5 separate regions of the Homo sapiens genome follow, and all the other regions are linked to region 3. Evidence: promoter capture Hi-C in human tissues and cell types (Jung and others, 2019). All regions are on one chromosome and are shown on one strand. Each heading gives the region's core, a stretch centred on a gene start or on the middle of the fragment in contact. The rest is flanking DNA. Distances are from core to core; before and after follow the strand shown.

The links. Contacts are between HindIII fragments. The study calls those that stand out against the background at their distance.
Region 1: a contact is called between a fragment that was not itself captured here and the fragment with the promoter of AK8 in region 3, in 1 of the 25 tissues and cell types used here (lymphoblastoid cells).
Region 2: a contact is called between a fragment that was not itself captured here and the fragment with the promoter of AK8 in region 3, in 1 of the 25 tissues and cell types used here (dorsolateral prefrontal cortex).
Region 4: a contact is called between a fragment that was not itself captured here and the fragment with the promoter of AK8 in region 3, in 1 of the 25 tissues and cell types used here (aorta).
Region 5: a fragment that was not itself captured here is called in contact with the fragment with the promoter of AK8 in region 3 in 2 of the 25 tissues and cell types used here (liver and mesenchymal stem cells).

Annotation. Positions count from the first base shown.
Region 1 is chr9:132,552,353-132,556,883 of GRCh38, reverse strand. All of the region lies in intron 5 of CFAP77 (cilia and flagella associated protein 77), which reads right to left. Among named protein-coding and RNA genes, the nearest start is that of BARHL1, 28 kb to the left of the region's middle. The HindIII fragment of the contact is 4,506 bases long and covers 1-4,063 here.
Region 2 is chr9:132,393,991-132,398,757 of GRCh38, reverse strand. TTF1 (transcription termination factor 1) reads left to right here. Exons shown (of 11, transcript NM_007344.4): 4 at 432-617; 5 at 2,247-2,325. Among named protein-coding and RNA genes, the nearest start is that of TTF1, 10 kb to the left of the region's middle. The HindIII fragment of the contact is 8,735 bases long and covers 1-4,767 here.
Region 3 is chr9:132,876,890-132,881,501 of GRCh38, reverse strand. AK8 (adenylate kinase 8) reads left to right here and starts at 3,218. Exons shown (of 13, transcript NM_152572.3): 1 at 3,218-3,330. The coding sequence starts at 3,247. SPACA9 (sperm acrosome associated 9) reads right to left here and starts at 2,604. Exons shown (of 4, transcript NM_001316897.2): 1 at 2,488-2,604. The HindIII fragment of the contact is 8,008 bases long and covers 1-4,612 here.
Region 4 is chr9:132,370,719-132,375,414 of GRCh38, reverse strand. LOC124902292 (a long non-coding RNA gene) reads right to left here and starts at 616. Exons shown (of 3, transcript XR_007061828.1): 1 at 530-616; 2 at 278-431; 3 at 1-174. RefSeq lists an enhancer at 2,379-2,673. The HindIII fragment of the contact is 6,869 bases long and covers 1-4,696 here.
Region 5 is chr9:132,475,252-132,480,188 of GRCh38, reverse strand. All of the region lies in intron 1 of CFAP77 (cilia and flagella associated protein 77), which reads right to left. Among named protein-coding and RNA genes, the nearest start is that of CFAP77, 68 kb to the right of the region's middle. The HindIII fragment of the contact is 6,160 bases long and covers 1-4,937 here.

The sequences.
Region 1 (4,531 bases), core at 561-3,060, 320 kb after region 3:
GGCGGAAGAAACAGCCAGCGCCAAAGGGGCCTGGGGGCTGGCTGGGGAATCGTTAGCGCGCCAGGAGCGGCCTCGGCTCCTAATTGGAAGCATTGGGCATTATCAACGGAGGATTTGCCTCAGTTCCCTGACAGCTCGTGGGCCCAAAATGATCGCCCACTTGTCAGTGTAAAAGACCATTAAAAACAAACCATTTTGATTTAATTGGAGGCGGTGCACCGCGGGGCCAGGTGAGGGGCTCGTCAGCCCGGCTCCCCCAAGCTGCCACCCCCCTCTCCCTCTGTGTGATGGGGCTCGGGGGGTGGGGTGGGAGAGAGTGTGTGTGTGTTTTCCAGACTTTTCACCTTTCAAAAACTGCCTGAGAAAGGAGTGAATGGGAGATGGAGGAAACTTCACAAAGACAGTGAGGCCGCTTTCAATGGGGTTGTCAACAAAGGCCCTGACAAGCTGAGCCGCCGGGGAGGGGGTCCTCCCTTCTTTGCAGAACCCAGATGATGGGAGGCTGCTCAGCTCTTTCTTCTGGAGGGGTCCTGCCACAACCTGCCCACCCCCGCTTAGAAATATCAGGACAGGGGAGGTCACAGCAGAGCCTGATCTTCAGTGGGGAGGAGGACTTTTTCTTTTATCGTGAAGACTAAGAAGAAGTTAGTGAAGGGACTGTGTCGACGGAGGCCCTGCTGAGGTGTCTTTGTGAATGGGACGGCCCCTAGAGATCTGGGGTAGTGTCTCATCAGGGTTCCCCCAGTGGAGGCCAGGGTGCTGACGATGCCTGCTTGAGAATCCTACATTGTCTCAGTATGAAGAGGGCGCTTGTATCAATATTAACTTAAACTCCTGGTGGGTTCTCCCACCGGGGCAGGTGCCTCCAAGCACACGGATCATCTATCTGTGCGCGGAACCTGAGTGTGACTCGGAGTGGAGATTGCCTGATGCCAGGGACTGTATGTTTTGCATGTTGATTCTCGGTATCGTGTACGCCGTGGGTGCTTGATAAATATTAATTGGCACTTGCCAGATCTCAGGTCTATATGTTTGTATATTAATCTCACCCCCATCTCACAACGCGGAGATCTCATTTGCTGCTTTCTGCTTCTCTGACAAGACAACACATGCAGGACCACACAGGGCTGGGGGGTGTGTTAGGGAAAGGGCGGGAGGCACGTCAGCTGATCCCTTCCTAAGCCTCCACTCTTCATTCTGATGAAGGATTGGGCTGGGAGGAGACACCAGCTCCCTGGTGAGCATCAAATTCCAGAGCTCCAAATTTTACTGCTGAATTTAGACAATGGGGATTCCTTAATTACTTTCTCTGGAAATTTACCTGACAGTGCTTTCTCAGGTAGCACAAGGTGCTTATCCAGCCACATGGTTCCTCGGTTGACAGTCTTTGATTTTGTGCTCGGTTGCAAATTAAGTCCTTTGCTGAGCCGTCCATGCAGTGCCCGTCAGTACTTTATTGCTCATTAATATAGGCTGTTGAACAACTTCTGAGTTACTGCCAGGGAAGCTGGGGACACACTCAGATGTTTGGTGTCCTCGGCCCATCGGGGTGGAGTGTACTGCAACGAGGTTTGGTGTTGTTATTCCCCTTTTATCTTATTGGAATAATGACCAGGAAGGATTTTTTTCTGGTATCTTTTAAGAAGGAGCAGAACCTTTCTGTGGTTGACGAGGCTAAGCCTGACAAGTCACAAATAGGACTATTAGAGCTAAGTGTCCTCAGCTAGATAGCAAAGATGTTAATGCCATATTGTGGGCATGGTTCTAGGGAAATGTCCGCAGACAGGAGGCCTTCAAATGTCTTGGGGTAACTCTACTTTTAGAGGCACCCAGTAGACACCAAACAAATCTTGGCTGGATGGTTGGATGAACAAACAGATGGACAGATGGCTGAGGATGGATGGATGGATGGATGGATGGATGGATGGATGGATGGATGGATGGGTGGATGGATGGATGCATGCATGCATGCATAGATGGATGGATAGATAGATGGTTGGATAGATGAATGAATGGACAGATGGATGGACGGATGGACAGATGAGTGGGTCAGGAGTCTGGGGATGAGGCAACACAGCCCTTAGGAATGCATCCAAGATTCAGGCACCCTGAAGATCTCTGCTTTGCTCAGCTTAAACTCTAAGTGGAAGAAGTGTTTTACTTTCTTCAGTAGTTGTACCCTGTCTCCTTCCAAGTGATTTGAAGGTATCTGGCGGATTGCACGCAAGGTGAAACAAGGTATTTAAGGGCTGGGCATAGTGGCTCATGCCTGTGATCCTAACACTTTGGGAGGCCAAGGCGGGCAGATCTCTTGAGCCCAGGAGTTCAAGACCAGCCTAGGCAATATGGTAAAACCCCATCTCTACAAAACATAAAAAAAATTAGCCGGGCATGGTGGTGTGCACCTGTAGTCCCAACTACTTGGGAGGCTGAGGTGGGGGATCACCTGAGCCTAGGAAGTTGAGGCTGTGATTGTGCCACTGTGCTCCAGCCTGGGTGACAGAGTGAGAGCCTGTCTCAAAAAAAAAAATAAATAAAATAAAAATAAGGGTTGCATAAAGCATAGTCTGAAGAAAAGTGTAGCAACTCTCAGGCCCCTGGTTTAAACAGATTCTAACCCTTGCTCAATTTCTGCCACATGAAGCCAAACGGAGCACATTCCATCACGTCGAGCATGTTTTTTCCACAACAGAAGGCATGACAGTGCACTCGATGATTAGGGACATAGGGCTTTGAGTTCCACAGAGCTCAGTTCCAATCCTGGTCCTATCGCTTTCCAGCTGTGTGACCAGGGGCCTCAGTTTCTCACCTGCAAAGTAAGGGTCATACTACCCATCCCGTGGGGTCATTGCCAAGCCCCTGGAATGGTGCCTGGCACACAGTGTAGGCATTGAAGACATGGTGGCTTGTACTGTTATTACTACTATTAGTATACACGAATCCGACTAAGCTTCTTCCTGAAATTGCCCTCCAGCAGGGAATTTTCACGGAGGTTCTTGTATTAAGTGATTCAAGTGGCGTTGATAGACAGTTTCAGTCACAATTTTATTTAAAAATATATAGAAATGCAGTGCAGCTTGACAAATCTTCCATGCATGTGGATAAAGGTAGAGAATGCAGCATGGACTGGTGGAGACCGTGGAGCCTAGGCCGTCCACTGTTGTTGCAACGTGGGGTTCCCCCTTCCAACATTCAGAACTCTGCCCTGGGGTGCAATCGAGACCCTGGTTGTCTATGAAGAAATGGTATCTGACTTTGGGAATTTGCAGGGCTGTCATGTGGAAGGGAGAGAAGGTGATTCCATGGGGATCAAGAAGCAAGAAACACAACAAGGAGGTGGAAGGTAGAAGGCAGATTTCCACTGCACTTGAAAAAGAGCTTGCTATGGACTGAATGTGTCCACCCAAAATTCGCATATGGTGTTTGTTTGTTTGTTTGTTTGTTTGTAGAGACAGAGTCTCACTTAGTTGCCCAGGCTGGTCTTGAACTCCTGGCCTCAAATGATCCTCCCACCTCAGCCTCGCAAAGTGCTGGGATTACAAGTGGGAGCCACCATGCTCAGCCAACAAAAAGCGTATGTGAATCCCTGACCCCCAGTGTGATGGCATTGGAGATAAGGCTCTTGGGGAGTTGATTAGGTTTAAATGGGATCGTGAGGGTGGGGCCCCCATGATAGGATTAGCGTCCTTATAAGAAGAGACACCAGAGTGTGTGCTTCCTCTCTCTCTCTCCAGCAAGTGAGGACTCGGTGAGAAGGTGCCTTGGCTATAAGCCAGGAAGAGGACCCTCACCAGAACCTGATCATGCTGGCACCCTGACCTTGGACTTATAGTCTCCAGATCTAGGAGAAATAAACATCTGTTTAAGCTCCCCAGTCTATGGGATTTTGTTAGAGCAGCCTGACTAAGACAGAAGTTCATAAGCCTTAGGGCTGTTTAACAGACAGAGGCGGTCTCCAACTGCACATTTCCCTTTGAAAGCCCCATCATGCCTCATGTCAAACATATGAAAATACATCCACCTGCCACAGTAAACACATATTTGAACGTAACTGTAAGAGTGGAGTTGACACTGACCCTGAGAGCTGGGGCAGCTGGCTTGCTGAAAATACAGGTTTGGTGGCTGTCCCAGACCCACTGGATCAGAGTCCTGGAGAGGCCCTGGACTCTGCTTTTTTTTTTTTTTTTTGAGATGGAGTCTCACCCTGTCACCTGGGCTGGAGTGCAGTGGCGTGATCTCGGCTCACAGCAACCTCAACCTCCCAGGTTCAAGCAATTCTCCTGCCTCAGCCTGCCGGGTAGCTGGGATTACAGGAGCACACCACCATGCCCAGCCAAGTTTTGTATTTTTGCTAGAGACAGGGTTTCACCATATTGGCCAGGCTGGTCTCAAACTCCTGAGCTGAAGTGATCCTCCCGCCTTGGCCTCCCAAAGTGCTGGGAGATTACAGGCATGAGCCACCGCACTGGGCCTTCGACTCTGCATTTTAAACATCTCCTCAGAGGATCCCAGGCAAAGCCAAGTTTTCGAA
Region 2 (4,767 bases), core at 1,297-3,796, 480 kb after region 3:
TAGCCAGGTGTCACACACACCTGTAGTCCCAGCTACTCGGGAGGCTGAGGCAGGAGAATCACTTGAGCCCAGGAGTTCAAGGTTGCAGTGGACTTTGATCATGCCACTGCACTCCAGCCTGGGTGAAAAAGCAAGACCCTATCTCTAAAGAATGCATAAATAAATTTGAAAACTATTTTTTAAAAAGATAGATTAAACAGGAAAGGTCACTTTGGAATAGGATGACCCGGGAAGACATTGACAGAAGAGGTGTGGCTTGGGCTGAACCCTGAAGGAAAGGCCAAATCTGCAAGTGCGGGCAGGAGGGCGAATGTCAGGTGTTGGGACTGTTGGGCCGAGGTACTGTCATTGCTGATGAAAAACCAAGTCATAGGTTTGCTTTTGTCATTATTAACAATACACACTTTCTCCCTGTTCCTTCCCAATTCTAGGTGTCGCTATTAAATTTGGCAAGTTTTCTGTAAAGGAAAATAAGCAGTTAGAGAAAAATGTGGAAGACTTTCTAGCCCTGACAGGCATTGAGAGTGCAGACAAGCTGCTGTACACGGACAGATATCCTGAGGAAAAATCTGTGATCACCAACTTAAAAAGGAGATACTCGTTTAGATTACACATTGGTAAGTTTAGAAACAATCACCCTTTGACCATCCACAGCCTTCCAGCCATAAACAAGATAACCCATGGTAAGTGTTAGCACGGTACCTGGCCCATTGCCTGCAGGCGGCGCACATTAACTGCTGTGATGGCTGATGATATTCTTTTTTTTTTTTTTGAGACGGAGTCTTGTTCTGTTGCCCAGGCTGGAGTGCAGTGGTGCAATCTTGGCTCACTGCAACCTCCACCTCTGGGGTTCAAGTGATTTTCCTGCCTCAGCCTCCTGAGTAGCTGGGACTACAGGTGCCCACCACCACGCCCAGCTAATTTTTTGTATTTTTAGTAGAGACGGGGTTTCACCTTGTTAGCCAGGATGGTCTCGAACTCCTGACCTCGTGATCCGCCTGCCTCGGCCTCCCAAAGTGCTGGGATTACAGGCGTGAGCCACCGCGCCCAGCCCTGATGGTATTCTTATTGCCAGTCTGTACTTTCTGGGATTTGGAATGTGTTCATGTCTCCCAAGTTTAGGGTGAAAAATTAAATGATCAACTTTTACCTTTCTTCCTTGGCAATAGTTGTGGTTTTGGTTTCTCCTCCTGTTCCTTATTTATATTTTGTGTACGCTACACAAAGCACATCCTTATACGCACCATGGTCTCCCGTGTTTTTTAAGTGTGGCCATATGTGTGCTTTGTAACTGGAACCCTCCGACTGGAGGTGCTGCCTGTGAAGTTAGAAGGTCATGCTGTCATATGGGATCAGAGCGAAAGCAAATCTCTCTTGAATTTAAAGAGGATAATTTCTTAGGTGTTGTGTGGAATCCACGAAGAAAAGCAGGCTAGTACGCCCCCGTTGAGGGATTATTTCCCCTTAGAGTGAGAAAGTGAGAAAAGCTGATTTGGGAAAGATTATTGTTCATCTTCTGGAAAACTGTTACCCTGTATTCTCCACCGCAGTGTTCTCTTCCTCTTAATTCACATTATCTTAAAACTACTTTGCCTCTTAAGGATTCTTTCCACAAATTGCATAGACCGGAAGCTGAAGCCTCAGGGTACTAAGCATTTAGTTTTCGGAGATCTCCAAGGAAACTGGTGATTGTGTGTATCTGCTCTTCAAGACAGCTTTCTTAGGCCGGGCGCGGTGGCTCATGCCTGTAATCCCAGCACTCTGGGAGGCCGAGGAGGGCGGATCACCTGAGGTCAGGAGTTCAAGACCAGCCTGGCCACCAAATGAACCTGGCCAGCTGGTTCATTTGGTGAAGCAGCCTTCACCAAATGAAACAGCCTGGTTTCATTTAGTGAAACCCCGTCCCTACTAAAAATATAAAAACCAGCTGGGCGTGGCGGTGGACACCTGTAATCCCAGCTACTCGGGAGGCTGAGGCAGGAGAATTGCTTGAACCCAAGAGATGGAGGTTGCAGTGAGCCGACACAGTGCCACTGCACTCCAGCCTCAGTGACAGAGTGAGACTCTCTCAAAAAAAAAAAAACAAACAAAAAAAACAAGACAGCTTTCTTCAGGACGTAGGAAATCCCAGCCTTAACACGGGGCTTAGGATAGTTCATGTTGTTATAAGGGCTGTTCTGGGTTCCTTTTACAATTGCGACTTCATTTCATGTGAGTCCCTCTGATCACCTTTCTTCTGACTTTAGGTAGGAACATTGCCCGGCCCTGGAAACTTATATACTATCGAGCAAAGAAGATGTTCGATGTCAACAATTACAAAGGCAGGTAAGAAAAAAGTCTTAGCAGCTTGAGACAACATTTCTCTAGTCTTTGCTGATACCATAAATCAAAATATTCACAGCAGTGGATTAGCAGTAAAGATAACGCAGATTTGTGTGTGTGAAACCAGGTGGTGTATTTGTTGTCAAATGTGTGTCTTCATGGCCTTTTCCATCCCCACCTCTTTAGTGAAGCTGTGGTGACCTTCTGTTTCCTGCATCTGCAGCTTTCTCTACACTTTTTCTTTAGCACTCCCCATATGCTGCTTCATGTGCTGTGACTCCTGTTTACTCTGCTCTCTGCTTACGTCATAAGCTCCTTGTGAACCCAAACATCCCATCTCGACACATGTTCCATTCAGCACTTAGCAGAGTGCTGTGGGTTTTTAGTAACTATTTGAAGGTGGAGGTAAGTGCTGGGATTAGGTCCCTTAAATGCAGTTCAGTGGTATCAACCTGGGGTGCTTAACCCGGTTGTCATTCTCTCCTTCCTTTTCCCCAAATACAATATCGGATTATAATTTGTTTCCAACACATTTAAAAACAAACCAAACGTAGACCGAGCGTTTGGGTTAGCACGTTAGCACTCTGCTCAGGGACAGAAGGAGAAGCAGGAAGGTGTTAGCTCGGATTCCACGGCCCCCGAAAACTACCTTCTACTCAGCTGCTTGACCTCTCTCTGAGAGGCAGCTTTCATAAATCTTCTGGCAGCGGCAGTTGAGTTCTGCTTAGCTCTGTGATTGTAAACTGAGACATAGGTCATTACTTAAACTTCCAACGTTGATATGACCTCGGTTTCCTTTTTAAAATTTTTACAGAAATAAATCAGCCTTAGGTGAGGAAAGTTCACACACAGACTGAGACCTGCCCTGCCTGTTTTTCCCCAATCCTGAGGTTAGACAATTGTGAACAGAACTTTTAAGAAAATCCACTAAAGGTAACATTTTAAATGGGACTTACAAGAATGCTTTTGGCAGGTTAATGGTGGCAGCTGAGGTAATATATTTCCACCTGTGACACACACACAGGAATGAAATTTTTAGAGTAATTTTTAGAGTCATTCTAAAAATCTAACAGTTCATCTCTTTGTGCTGTATTATTTGTGTTGTGGTGATCATTTACCCTTAGAATATTTTTATAGCAAGCAATTCCTGACTTCAAAAAAATAGAAAGTAAAAAATCAAAGAATTATTATTATTTTAATTTTTAATTTTTGTTGTTGATTTTTTGTTGTTTTTTTCTTTTTTTGAAATGGAGTCTCAGTCTGTCGCCCAGGCTGGAGTGCAATGGCGCAATCTTGGCTCACTGCAACCTCCGCCTCCCAGGTTCAAGCAATTCTCCTGTCTCAGCCTCCCGGGTAGCTGGGACTACAGGCACCCACCACCACGCCCGGCTAATTTTTGTATTTTTCGTAGAGACGGGGTTTCACCATATTGGTCAGACTGGTCTGGAACTCCTGACCTCAGGCGATCCACCTGCCTCAGCCTCCCACGGTGCTGGGATTACAGGGGTGAGACACCGTGCCTGGCAATTTTTTTTTTTTTTTTGGAACAGGGTCTCCCTCTGTCACCCAGACTGGAGTGCAGTGGTGCGAACTCGGCTCATTGGAACCTCCACCTCCTGGGTTCAAGCGATTCTCCTGCCTCAGCCTCCCAAGAGGCTGGGACTGCAGGCGTGTGCCACCACACCCAGCTAATTTTTATATTTTTAGTGGAGATGAGCTTTCACCATGTTGACCAGGCTGGTCTCAAATTCCTGACCTCAAGTGATCCTCCTGCCTCAGCCTCCCAAAGTGCTGGGATTGCAGGCTTGAGCCACCACACCTGGCTTACAGCCATGATTCTTAATAGTGAAAAGTAGGCCAGGCACAGTGGCTCACACCTATAATTCCCAGCACTTTGAGAGGCTGAGGTGGGCGGATCACTTGAGGTCAGGAGTTCGAGACCAGACTGGCCAACATGGTGAAACCTTATCTCTACTAAAAATACAAAAATTAGCCTGGCGTGGTGGCAAACGCTTATAATCCCAGCTACTTGGGAGGCTGAGGCAGGAAGATTGCTTGAACCTGTGAGGCAGAGGTTGCTGTGAACCGAGATTGCGCCACTGCACTCCAGCCTGGGAAACACAGCAAGACTCCGCCTCAAAAAAAAAAATAGTGAAGAATAACCAGTTTCTATTCACCATACGCTGCATTTACAGACAAATGTCTGAAAATGCTCCGATGTTATTGTTTGTTTTTGGCTGGGTGCGGTGGCTCATGCCTGTAATCCCAGCACTTTGGGAGGCTGAGGCAGGCGGATCACTGGATTAGGAGTTTGAGACCAGCCTGGGCAACGTGGCTCTACAAAAAATACAAAAATTAGCCTGGTATGCACCTGTAGTCCCAGCTACTTGGGAGGCTGAGGTGGGAGGATCGCTTGATCCCAGGAGGTGGAGGTTGCAGTGAGCC
Region 3 (4,612 bases), core at 1,969-4,468:
GAGCCACTGTACCCAGCCCCAAAAACGTTTTTTAAAGAATGGGTCTTGCTCTTTCACCCAGGCTGGAGTGTGGTGCTGTGATCACGACTCACTGCAATCTTGACCTCCTGGGCTCAAGTGATCCTCCCGCCTCAGCCTCTTGAGTAGCTGGGACCTCAGGTATGTGCCACCATGCCTGACTACCTTTTTTCTTTTTTTTTTTTTCTTCTTTTTTTTCTTTTTTTTTTTTCTTTTTTTTTGTAGAGATGGGGTCTCCCTATGTTGCTCAGGCTGGTCTCGAACTCCTGGGCTCCAGCGATCCTCCCACCTCAGCCTCCCAATGTGCTGGGATTAGAAGCATGAGCTGGCAACATCAGAATTTGTAAAGAAAAGATTGCTGGCTGGGCGCGGTAGCTCACGCCTGTAATCCCAGCACTTTGGGAGGCCGAGGTGGGTGGATCACGAAGTCAGGAGATTGAGACCATCCTGGCCAACACGGTGAAACCCTGTCTGTAATAAAAATACAAAAAAAGTTAGCCGGGCACGGTGGCGGGCGCCTGTAGTCCCAGCTACTCGGGAGGCTGAGGCAGGAGAATGGCGTGAACCTGGGAGGCGGAGCTTGCAGTGAGCCGAGATGGCGCCACTGCACTCCAGCCTGGGCGACAGAGCAAGACTCCATCTCAAAAAAAAAAAAAAAAAAGATAGCTGCACCTTGCCATACTGAGGCCTGAGGCAAAAGGAGAAATCAGTAACACTGAGCCTACCTTTACTTAAATTTTTGACATGTTATTCTAAATGGATTTTAGGCAGCATTATTTTTGATTTTTAAAATATATTGCATTAAAACGTGAAAAACATCCACCTCAATGATTGAATTGCCGGCACTCCCTTAAGTTTTGTGCTGAGGGTGCATCACTTGCCTTGCCCTAATGTTGGCCCAGGGCTTACAAATGACTCAAAGGTGAAGCTCCAGAAAAGTGAGAGAGAGCACATAGGTGGAGTTCCAGGGAGAAAGGGCGTGTGCCCTTTCGGCCTGGCTTTTCCCTCATCATGGTGGGAGCTGTGGTTGGTAGTGGTTGAGAGGAACTGACTCTGTTCTTGATCCTAGCAACTTGTGACATGCACGCCAGGAATGTCATGAGAGGAGCTGTAATAAGCTATCCGAAGTGATCGTCCCTTGAACGAGAGCCACTGCAGCCAAATTAGTGTGGATGAAGGGCACAGGGGACGGGCACTTCTCGATCTGGGGGAGGAGGGAGGAAAAAAATGATTACCCATAGGTTTTAGGCTTTAATTGATTTGTATTTTTCCAGGCTGCTAAAGAAGATTGAATCATGGTAGGAAAAGCGCCTAGGGCTTAAAATAAATGAGGAGAAAGGCAAGTCATTTCAGAAATGTCCAGGAAGCAAAACAAACCTCTCCAGTGCAAATGGCAGGCATGGCTGTTGTGTTCTTTGCTCAGGGGGAGGCAGCTTCCTTTTCTTCCCCAGCTATCTTTACAGTTGGGTTTGACAAGCCTACCAAGGTGTACACACTTTGAGGAAGCGGTTTGGAGGGGAAGAGGCAACAGTGCTGGCTTTTACGTTGGGAGGGCATGTCTCTGGGCTGATGGCTGGTAGAAAAGGGCTTTAGCTGGAGCCTGGATGCAGAGTTCATGCCCTGGCTCTGCCCAATCTAACCAGTGGCCCTAGCCAAGATTTCCCCCTTTTCTGGGCCTCAGTTTATCCATCTGTCAAATGAGAGAGTTTGGATTAGCCTCTTCTTCAAGAGGCCTTCTGGTTCTAAGGCTGTATGATCAACAACTGATGAGAAAAGAAGCCCAGAAAGGGGAAGTGACTCACCCAAAGTTACCCAGCCAACCACTCCTCATTGTTCTAATCCTCCAACTTCTCATCTGTAAAATGGGAATGAAGGTGCCTATTTCACAGGATTGTTGGAACGATTAAATGAGATACTACTACTAATAGTAGCCCCATATATTGTGTGCTTACTGCATGCCAATTACTCTCCAATACATTAGCTCCTGAAATCCTTCAGCAGTTCCCTCTTCACAGGGCAGGAAAGTGAGGCACGGAGCAAGCAGAGAGTTTGCCAAGCTCACACAGTAAGAAGCGGAGCCAGAACTTGAAGCTGGGGCTGTCTGCATTGACTGTGCCATTTTCCCTCTCCATAAGGTACAGAGACAACAGAATTTTGCCGAGAGCACAAAGAGTTCAACAAACTCTTACAGCTCCTACGATTAACGGCAACAGACAAGAGCTAGAGATCCCAATTCAGTGTTGCGACTAATAAAATATCAAGCTGCCCCGTACCACTGGGAATTCATACGACTTAAAAAGCTCCGTCTCCAGCGCGAACCTTCCCCTCGCCCCCACCCCGAGACAGCTGTGCAGGCCCCTCCATCCTCCGGACCCCTCCATCTTTCCATCCTCCACCCCAGCTTCCAGTTTCTGACCCAGAGGCCGGGGTGGGGTCCGAGTGGGCCCACCCACACTCATCCCTGTTTACCCTTGCTTGTCCTAGAGCGCTCTTCGCTCCACGGAGCACCCAGAGAAGTTGGAGTGACTCCGTGAGTGTCGGTGCCCCGGAGGGTGGGGAGGCCCGTTCCAGGACTTGGGAGGCGAGGGTGGGTGGGGACGTCGGGCGAGAAGGGGCGGGGCCGCGGGCGTGATTGTTACCGCCGGTGCCATAGCAATCGGGTCACTTGGCGGCTTGGCCAGAGCCGGGGAGCTGGGAGGGGTCTACCGGGGCTCGACTCTAGGAGTTGGGCTGAGGATTTCCACCCGATCCTCGAACCTCCGGCCCATCTCATGGACGCCCCTCCCCCTTCAAACACCCTCCCCCACATTTATTCCCGCGTCTGTTTTAAAGATGGGTAAACTGAGGCACAGGGAGCCGGGCCGGGGAGCACTGACAGAACCAGAAGCAGGTTCTGCCTCCCGTCCCCTCGGAGGGCCGACTTGCCCCTTCTGGGTTTCGTCGGGGGTCTCAGATACGAGGAGGCCCAGCTGGAAGCCACCTGAGGGTGTCCCCCGCTAAGATGCGCAAATGGGAAAAGCGAGGCCGGGGTTGGGGAAAGAACTTGCCCGAGCCGCAGAGCGCGTCAGCCGGGGAGGTCGGGGCGGGGGCGACCCGCGCGACCGAGGATCGGGTATCTGGGCCCGGCGCGGAGCCTGCAGGGCGGGGCCGCGGCGCGTGCTGATGACGCAGTCGGCGCGGCGGCCCTAGCGACGCGGTTACTAGGGAGCGGCGAGCCGAGACGGCTACATGGACGCCACTATCGCCCCGCACCGTATCCCCCCCGAGATGCCCCAGTACGGGGAGGAGAACCACATCTTCGAGTTGATGCAGGTGACCGGACACCCCTGCCCGTCGCGACGCTGGCGGCGGCTCGGGAGCCTCCACTGCGACGTCGGGTGCGCGGCCGGGACCCGCAGCTGGGGCCGAGTCGCGCGCCCACGAAGCAGCCCAACTCGGGATGTACGATTCGTGTGTCGCCGTGACCCCGAGGGGGCCCTCGAGCTGGGGACGCTCCTGGTCCTGCCCGGGTTTGCCTCAGGCGGACCCAGGGGGAGGAAGGGGGCCACTCGAGCCGGGATTTGGTCCTGGCTGTGCCGCCAGCGGGCCTTATGGTCTGGAACCAGTCCTTTCCTTTTCTCGGTTTCCCCACCTGTGAAATGCCAGGTTGCAAGAGGTGGTCTCCCAGGGGCTCTCCCGGCGCTGACAATTACCATCTGTCGAATTTGTGGGGAGCCTCTCGGCCCAGGTTTCTGAGGTGGGCATTGTCCGAGTTCAAGCTGGCATCTCCATCCTCAGAGAGGGCCGCCTCTGGGACAGCAGCATCTCCCACCTTGGTCCCTCCTCCTCAGGGCCAGACGTCCCCGGCAGCTCCGAAGCTCTCATTCTGGCTCCAGGCCTGACTGGGCCCCCAGCTCACCGTGTGACTTTGGGCGAGGCCCCGTCCCCGCCAGGGCCCCAGTTTTCCCTTTTGCACGTGGTGGAGGTCAAGGCTTTCAGGAGCTGGAGGGGAAGAACTCTCAGCCACTCAAAGGTTCTGAGAGGCAAGGGGAAGCTGGAGCTCAGTTTTCAGATCATTTGTCTGCTTCCCAGGGTACACCCCATCCCCAGGGGCATGGCATGGAGGGCATAGTGGTGTCTGTGGTCATTTGAGGTTCTGCCCTGCACACTAGACAGCTGAGCCCAGACGAAGAAACCCGTGTCTGCACCTCCATCAAACACATTTCCCTCGGAAAGTGTTAACTGATAGAGGGAGAGCAAGAGATTCCTAAAACTGCTTGAGTGGCCAATCACAAATCAAATAGCTAGCTGGGTTAGAAGTCAGCAGGTCAGGGCAGGATGGGGGATCATCTGGAGCCCTGTTGTCTGCTCTAGAGAACCTGGTGTGTTTTCCACATTGATTGTTGGAGGAATTGCCCAGGAAAGCTTTTATTGATTTTGAAACAGGGTCTTGCACTGCTGCCCAGGCTGGAGTGCAGTGATACAATCATGGCTTACTGCAGCCTTGAACTCCTGGGCTCAAGCAATCCTTCTGCCTTAGTCCCTCCAGAGTAGCCGAGACTACAGGTGCAGGCCACCATACCTGGCTAATGTTTTTTTTTTAATTTTAGTACAG
Region 4 (4,696 bases), core at 984-3,483, 510 kb after region 3:
AGCTATATGGGTACTGAGCGAAAATGAGAAAGGTAACAATTTCGAAAAAGCATGCCCTTCTGCTGTGTTTCCAGTTGTTTAGATGTCTGCTCTCCATGTATATATGGATCACATTCGTGTTAGATGGAAGTTGTGAATCCACTGTTCTCTCAAACCGGTCTCTTTCCCTTGTACCTATCATAGTGTACATAGCTCAACTTCCTGAGTTTGATTCTAGTGTTCAAAGATAGGTATTTTTCATATAAGATGTCCTGTCAAAGCAAGTCATTGAACTTACCTGGTATTTAACTGAAAACAAACAAAAATCAGCAATCTCTTCCATTGCTTGTAGAAATACTGACTTAGGCCAGGCACAGTGGCTCACGTCTAATCCCAGCACTTTGAGAGGCCAAGGCAGGAGTATCACTTGAGCCCAGGAGTTCGAGACCAGCCTGGCAACATAGTGAGAACTTGTCTCTGTAAAAAGGAAGGAAGGAAGGGAAGGAGGGAGGGGTGGAGGGAGAGGAGGGGAGGGGACACTCTGTTATACTTATCGAAAGGTGCTATCCAGGTGTGGTAGTGCAGCCGATAGTCTCAGCTACTCAGGAGGCTGAGGTGGGAGGATCACTTGAGCTCAGGAGTTTGAGGCTGCAGTGAGCTATGATGGTACCATGTACTCCAGCCTGGGCAACAGAGACAGACCAGACTCCTAAAAAAAAAGAAAAGAAAAAAAAATGTGTCAGTGTCAACACACAACTCCTGTTGGATATTCAAAGATAATTTCAATGGTGGGCTATTCCATCAATCAGGAAAGCAAAACCACCCGAGATATTTCAAATGGAGAAGAACTTAATATAAATTTTATGTTCCTTTTGGAGGGCAATTTGGTAAGATACATCAAAGCCTGAAGAGGCCGGGCATAGTGGCTCACACCTGTAATCCTAGCACTTTGTGAGGCCAAGGCAGGCGGATGACTTGAGGTCAGGAGTTTGAGACCAGCCTGGCCAACATGATGAAACTCCATCCCTACCAAAAAAAAAAAACAAACAAAAAAAAATTAGCTGGGCATGGTGGCGTGTGTCTGTAATTCCAGCTACTTGAGAGGCTGAGGTAAGAGAATCGCTTGAACCTGGGAGGCAGAGGTTGCAGTGAGCTGAGATCACACCACTGCACTCCAGCCTGGGTGACAGAGACCCTGTGTCAAAAAAAAAAAAAAAAAATTAACAGAGGCTGGGCAATGGTGGCTTATGCCTGTAATCCCAGCACTTTGGGAGGCTGAGGTGGGTGGATCACTCAAGGCCAGGAGTTCGAGACCAGCCTGGCCAACATAGTGAAAACCCATCTCTACCAAAAATTAGCCGGGTGTGGTGGTCTGCGCCTGTAGTCTCAGCTGCCCAGGAGGCTGAGGTGGGAAAATAACTTGAACCTGGGAGGCGGAGGTTCCAGTGAGCCGAGATCACGCCACTGCACTCCAGCCTGGCGACAGAGTGAGACTGTCTCAAAAAAAAAGTGAGTCAATGTTCTGGTTTCAGATCCTATAAATCTCACCTTTTACTAAAGAAAGTGACTCAGAAAGCGAACAAAGGTAAAAAGAGAAAGACAATACCCACCTCACAAGAACTAAGGCTGTGGAACATGTACAATTGGTTTTGTTTTTGTTTGTTTTTTGGAGACAGAGTCTCTGTCACCCAGGCGGGAGTGCAGTGGTGTGATCTCGGCTCACTACAACCTCCGCCTCCCGGGTTCAAGCAATTCTCCTGCCTCAGCCTCCTGAGAGTAGCTGGGATTACAGGCGTGAGCCACAGCACCTGGCCCATAAAATTGTTTTTAAACAGCCTTGACTATGCATTATTCGAGTTCTTGGCTCAGTTCTTGGTCATTTTGTCCTTGTCCCTAGTCATGTGTTTCAGCTGTTTGTCTTCACTGATGGACTTCATTACCCAACAAAGTGGCCCAGCATGGCAGATACCAAGTAGGTCAGAAATTAGCATCTTAGCCAGACCAAGACATCCACTGACTTCATAGCACCACCTTCACTTTGACAAGTGCAGCTCAACAAACATTGGTGAACACGTGCAGTGAGCCAGGTACTGTTAGGAGCTAAAAAGACAAGCATTGACAGGCCAGGCACAGTGGCTTACGCCTGTAATCCCAGCACTTTGGGAGGCCGAGGCGGGAGGATCGGGAGGTCAAGAGTTCGAGACGAGCCTGACCAACATGGTGAAACCCCATCTCTACTAAAAATACAAAAATTAGCTGGGCCTGGTGGTGCGTGCCTGTAATCCCAGCTACTCGGGAGGCTGAGGCAGGAGAATCACTTGAACCCAGGAGGCAGAGGTTGCAGTGAGCCGAGATACCGCCACTGCACTCCAGCCTGGGCGGCAGAGACTCCGTCTCAAAAAAAAAAAAACAAAAAACAAGCATTGACAGTACAGCCTTGGGGCCTGCTTTCTTGGAGGCTACACAGTCCAGCACTTCCTGAACACCATTTCCTGTTTATTTCCTGAAATACATGAGCAGGCATTCTCAGCCTCCCTCGGTGCTATCAGGTCACTCCCAGCTTACCCAGGCTGTCACATGGTCCCTTGCCACAATCACCTTCCTGAACACCCTCCATCCTGGCATTCTCTCCCCCTGAGGCACTTCCCTGTTTAAGACACCAGATCTGGGTGAGCCCTTCCCTTTGCCTGTTACCTGCACCTGAAGAGCTGAATATTCCCAGAAGAAAATTACAACTGAGCTGGCAGATTTCACTTTAATGATGATAAAGCTCAAACGGACACAATGTTACCAAAGGATGCTACTCTGAATCTCTAGTAGGCTTGCTTTGCTTTTCCCCACATCAGCTCACGTGCACAGTCAGCCCTCTCACACTCCCTTTCTGCCTCATGTATAATCCACTTAGGAAAGTGAAGCCATAAGACATAAGCTCCCTCCTCCCTCCACCAAGCAGACAAACCTACCTCCAGCCACACTTACGCCGATCCCTACACCTAAGCTCCTGCAGCCCATCCCCCTGCTTTTTTTTTCCTTTTTTTTTTAAAGAGACAGGGTCTCACTGTGTTGCCCAGGCTGGAGTGCACCATCACGACTGATTGCAACTTTGACCTCCCGGCCTCAAGCAATCCTCCCACCTCAGCCTCCCATGTAGCTGGGACAACAGCAGGCATGTGCTACCACACCAGCTAATTTTTATTTTTTATTTTTGTGTAGCGACATGGTCTCCGTATGTTGCCCAGGCTGGTCTTGAACTCCCGGGCTCAAGTGATCCTCCCACCTCTGCCTCCCAGTGTTGAGATTACAAGGTGTGAGTGCCTGGCTACCACCTGCATTTTCTGAGATTTTGATATTTTGTTGATCCTTCTCCTAAATTGTCAGCCTTCTGTTCTGGACCATTAACACCATACAAACAGGCTCTAGTGTAACTCATCTTAATTTAAAATATGTGTGTATATATGTATATATATATGGACTCAATTAGTTTCTGCTACACTCCTCCCGCTGCACTCAACATTGAAAAGTTAGTGTTCCTCAGAGCTCAATTTTGGGCTTCTTCACATTCTCTCCATGCCTTGAAATAATGTGTATATGCTGATCCCTCCTCCCAAGTGTATAGTTACAGGTCAGATTCTCCCCCGAACTCCAGGATAAAAAAATTCATCTGCCTACTCACTATCTCCACTCAGGTATTACACCTGAAATCTATTATATTACAAATAACTTTCTTTCTTTCTTTCTTTCTTTTTAGATGGAGTTTTGCTCTTGTTGCCTGGGCTAGAGCGCAATGATGTGATCTTGGCTCACCGCAACTTCCTCCTCCCGGGTTCAAGCAATTCTCCTGCCTCAGCCTCTCAAGTAGCTGGGATTACAGGCATGTGCCACCACACCTGCCTAATTCTGTATTTTTAGTAGAGACGGGGTTTCTGCATGTTGGTCAGGCTGGTCTCGAACTCCCGACCTCAGGTGATCCGCCTGCCTCGGCCTCCCAAAGTGCTGGGGTTACAGGCGTGAGCCACCGCGCCCAGCACAAATAACTTTCTAATTGCTGACACCCATCTCAAAATCTGTCACTTGTCCCCCGGGCTTCCTCATCTCTGCCAGTGGTATTGTTACCGGGCATCCTGTGTTGGAATGGATTCTTTAACCAAGATCAACAGAGCTGGAGCTCTGGACCAGCAATCTCAGTTCTTGTGATAGTGAGCAAAGAATTGCAAACTAGGCTGGGCTCACACCTGTAATCCCAGCACTTTGGGAGGCCAAGGCAGATGGATCACGAGGTCAGGAGATCGAGACCATCCTGGCAAACACGGTGAAACCCCATCTCTACTAAAAATACAAAAAAATTAGCCGGGCATGGTGGCGGGCGCCTGTAGTCCCAGCTACTCGGGAGGCTGAGGCAGATTGCGCCACTGCACTCTAGCCCGAGCGACAGAGCGAGACTCCATCTCAAAAAAAAAAAAAAAAGGCAAACTAACACTGAAATGCAAGCTTACAGCAAGATTTATTGCAACACAGTAAAACACTCTGAGGGAGAGCAGGCTCATTTCTGGGAAGTAAAATCAGCCCCTCTTTACAAAAATCAAGGTGCTTTTATGGGGTTTGTTGGAGGAGTTGAGGCTTGGGCTGTGTTTGAGTGACAGGATGATATCATTTGATTGGCAGTTTATGGTTATATCCCTGAAGTTAAACTGCGCATGTTTTTACCCATAATTCATTA
Region 5 (4,937 bases), core at 1,114-3,613, 400 kb after region 3:
GTCTGGTGGCTCCTGGGGAGGGCGGTCCAGGAGAGCAGCCGAGGAGGCCCCCTCTCCTCTTCTCTGGCCTCAGTGGTCCCATCTGCAAAATGAGGGGGCTGAGCCGGTTGATTTTCAGGGTCCCCCCCACCAGCTCTGCCATTTCCTATCTGGAGCGCGTCTCCATCCGTGTCATCCAGAGCCGCATCATCTGCTTCTCCTGCTCAGGGAGGCAGAGGCGCACAGTGGAGAGCTCAGAGCCAGCCTCACCTGGGTTCCACTGCCACTCTCCTGCTTGATAGCCGCGTCACTTTGGCCAAGGACCTCACCCTTGAGCCTGTCTCTGGACACCACCCAATTCATAGGCTTGGTGTCAGATGAGAATATTCACTGCCTCTCACGTAGTAGGCCATTCTAAATATCTGCAGTAGGAAAATGTGGCCACTATTATTAGAGGGAGTTGATGCTACGTGTCCAAACTCCATCAGCAACATCTGTCCCTGGTGGCCAGCTCGGCCCACCTGCCCACACGCTTTCAACCAGGATGGCCTGAGCAAAGCCAACGGGGCCATCCTTGGAGGGAACTCAGGCCATGGCTCTGCAGCACATCCCTCCAGCCACTCGGAGGAGCATCACTGGTGGGAGGTGATTGGATCAGCAGGTTCAATGCGCTGCAGCAGGTTGGATGAATGAAGAGTATTTCAAGAACGCCACAAGGAGGACCTTGGCTCAACCAAACCAGGCCCAGCCCCCCAAGGCCCTCCCCCATGCACCCACCCAGCTGTGTCTGTATCTGAAACTGAAAACTGGAAACTCTGTGGTTCTGTGGTTGGGAGGATGGGATGCACGATGGTAGGATGAACAATGGTGGGATGAACTATGGGGGAAAAGGTCTGAGCTCCCTGAGGGTACCCAGGGCAAAAGATGGCTGAGCACTGTGAGCTGGGCATGAGGGGTTGTGCTGTAAATGCTTTAATGGGTGGCTTCTTAGATGCCATGGGGTTGCATCACTAAGGTAAAGATTCTGAGTATGTGGCATAATTGCTACATGCGAAAATCTATTTGTACTTAGCTTTTAGTCTTGAAAATTACCAAGCCCTGTGCTGCTCCTACAATTAATCATTAAAGAATTAGGAGTGAGAATACCCATTATTGTAAAAGACTCCAGCGATGGTCTTGATCCAACTTATAAAATAGACAGATTTGGTGCAACTGAATAATTTTCCTCCTCTCTGCACAAAATCAGGAATGCTAGTCATATTCAATGGCTGGAGTGAATGCTTACAAACTGGTTTATAGACCAGCCTATAATTACCAAAATAGAAAAAGAACAGCATTCTGTAATGAATGACAAGCTGCAGAGCGGAAATCTAATTTGGTCTAATTAAGCAGCCTTTTGTGAGGATTTGTCTTTAGATGAAAAGAGGGAGCCAAGGAGATCTAAATGCAAATGAACTCCATCATTTTGGTTTTAAAGGGCTAGGCTGAGATGAGCATCTCCGGCCCCAGCCCTCTCCTCTTCATTAGATTCTGAGTCCCCTCCTCGTCACCTCCAGCCCACGCCGGGCCCCATCTGCCTTGGAGAAGCCTCGCGTTTTTTGTCCCTGGCCTCTTATATCTTTTCAAATAGGACACCTCACGCCGACAGGGCTGTCAGGGAGCTTTTGCTTACTTGGGAGCAAATTTTATTTTGCCCAAAGTAATAAAAGCCAAGGGGGAGGCTGATTATTAGAGGAACTTGCTCCTGTTCTCGGCGAGTACAGCCTCTGAAGTCTGGAGGGTTGAATGCACACCCGGAGCCACTGGCACTGACAGAACAAATGGGGGGAACCAGTGCCGCGTCTTCACCTGTGAGCCTCGTGCAGGGTAAGCAGAGGCTGAGGCTTGGCTGCCATTCAGGACTCCCCAACACCACCCTCAGCTTCAGGAATTTGCCAGAAGGACCCACAGAACTCAGAAAAGCCACTGTACTCACGGTTATGGTTTATGATAGTAAAAAGCTACAGGCTAAAATCAGCAAAGGGAAGAGGCGCATGGGGCAGAAACCACCCCCCATGATCGAGTCACCTCCCACCAGGCCCCATCTTCAACATGTGGGGATTACAATTCCACATGAGATTTGGGTGGGGACACAGAGCCAAACCATATCACCTGGTTAGGTTGGGTAGACGAGAAGGAAAAAAAAATTCCACCACACTGACTCCTTAATCTCCTGTCTTAGTTTTCAAAGAAATTGCAAACATTTGGACTTTCTCATCTTCTAAACAAAAGCAAGTAGAATGACTGAGAGAGCAGGCAGCTGTGGCAGGGCCCCGCTGCCCCCAGATTGGTTGTCTCAGTGGCTCCTCCCTCGTGAATGCTGGTCCAGACTCAGAGGGTCTGGACTCCTAGGCTGCCCGTCTGAGCCTACGGCCTCCCACATCTCCATCAGAGTTTGGCCCAGTTCCCTACTCACCCCCTAGACACCTGCCTTGGCATTCAGATGCTCAAGAAAGGGAGCCAGGAGGCAGCACTGGAACCCAATGCAGGGCAAGAGAAGGCAAGAGCATCCTGTGGGGAGAAATGGAAGAGGCCCCCAGCCTGGAGTGCAGACAGCTCATGTGTGCTGAGCAATTACTATGTGCCCAATGCCTTGCCCAAGGCTAGGCGCTTGACCCCTGCTGACCCCTGACCCTTCCTGACCCGACCTCCCACTGGGAACTGCACCCCTGCCTGGCTTTGTGTTTCTTTGTAGCACCAATCAACAACTCGCTATGTATTCTACTGATGAATTTGGGTCATCATCTTTCTCTTCTCCCTAAAACAAGCTCTGTGGGATGGGGTTTGGTGGCTGGTTTGCTCACTGCGCTGTCTCCAGGGCCTGTAGTTCTTGGCACGTAGTAGGTGCTCAATGCATCTTTGCTGAATGAATGAACAGAAGGCTCGTCGTTATGACCTGTGAAGCAGGTCTACTCTTGTGCCGGGTTTACAGATTAGTCAGAGAGGTGACATGTGCCCAGGGTCACCTTGCTAATCGCCAGAGGCAGAGCTCAGTAATCAACTAGGTGTCCCTCATCCTGGCCCCACTGTTGGTGCCTCCCAGGCTTCTGAGCATCCTGGCACACAGAGAAACCAGTCAGCCTGGCACGAGACACACAGGCAGATGTACGAGGCTGCTTGCAGCTCCGGCAGCCCCAAGACCAGAGGAGGTTGGCGTCACAGCACCAGCGGCTGGGAAGACCTGATCATGCATTCCTGGCCCCAAACCATCGCCTCTGTATCCGTTTCTTGTGGCTGCTGCAGCAAATCGCCACCACCTTGGTGGCTGAAGGCAGCAGAAATCTCACCGCTCCGGAAGCCAGAAGTCTGAAATGAAGGTGTTAGCAGCAGTGGTTCCTTCTGGGGCTCCGAGGGGGGACTCATTCCAGGCCTCTCTCCCGGCTGCTGGTGGTTGCTGGCAGTCTGCGGTGCTCCTTGGCTTGTGGCTGTATCACTCCAATCTCTGCCTCTGTTTCCACATGGCCTTCTCCCCTGTGTGTCTCTGTGCCTCAAATCTCCCTCCCCTTTCTCTTGTCAGAACACCAGTCATTGGGTTTAGGGCCCACCCTACATCCAGTATGGTATCATCTTGAGAGCCTTAACTTGATCACCTCTGCAAAGACCCTATTTCCAAGTAAGGTCACAGCACTCATTACCCAGCACCTCGTGGGAACCATCCCAGTACCAAGCACTGCATCTAGATGAGCTACACCCATCTGCTCAGACAGACACCACCTGTGTGCCCCTATTACAGCTTGTGGGGAGATGGAAGATCAGAGCTTGAAGACAGACATAAGCAAAGTTCTGGGGACCCAGAGACTGAAGACAGCTCACCATCCAGCCCCACAAGAGGAGGGTGGGTCACTAGGGGAAGGTTTCTCAGAGCATGCGGTATGGGACACAGTGAGTAAGGGTTGAGTTAGACTTTTCTGATAGTCAATCTTGAGGGTGTTCCTGGAAGCAACCAACCCCAGGACCAAGCAGAGGATAGACACTTACAGAACAGCTGGGCATAGAGGAACGCCACAAGGGAAGTCTTACAGGCCACGAGAACTCTGAGAAGCAAGCTCATCTGCCTGCCAGGCTCGGGCCAGACCTCCCAGAAGAGGTGGCATTCGAGAAAGACTTGGAATGCTGAATGCAGAGCTATGGTGCAGGATTTCACAGAGCAGGCCAAGATGGCAGAAAAGCCTGGACAGAAATGCAGGCAGCGGCAAATGATCCAGCAGACCAGACGGAAGGTGAGTCATGGGGCCAGGCTGTGCCAGGCTATCTTCTTTGAGAGGTAATAGGGAGCCAGGGATGGTTGTGGTTCCATGGCCATGGTAGGATCAGTACTGCAGTTTGGGAAAGCTGGACTACTACCAGTGCGCACAGGATGGGGTAGAGGAGAAAGCAGAGGGTGGGGGTACCCAGGAGTCTGGTTCTGCACTCCAGGTGGAGGTGACAAGAGTCTGAACTAGGAGAGCAATGCTCAGGCCTCTGTGGCAAATGCAAGATGCTTGAGCTCTTCAGACCCAAATATCTTCAAAGCTGATTGGATGTAGGGAAAGCTGCCAGCCCAATTTCATGTGGCTTCTTTGTTCTTCCTGCTCCTAACCGAGACACTTCTCCCTGCCTAACTCCTGTGGATTTACCCCTTGACTGAGGCATTCAAGACTGGCAAAAACGAAGGCAATTCAGAGACGATTATCGGCTCAGTCCCAAAGTGGGCTCTGCATCCCCTCAGCAGGGAGACTGTGGCCTGGAACCAGCCTGGGTTCTGTAACGCTCCCAACTGCAGACCAGCCTTAGCGAAGGGGCCTAGTGGTAGATGCAGCCATAGAAAGCAAGAATTCAACATCTGCTCAGGCCCAGTGTCTATTTCCCAAGATGCATGATACCCAGGCTGGGCTCTTCCAGATACCTGGGGAATCCAACTGCCCTTTTCAGAATATCAG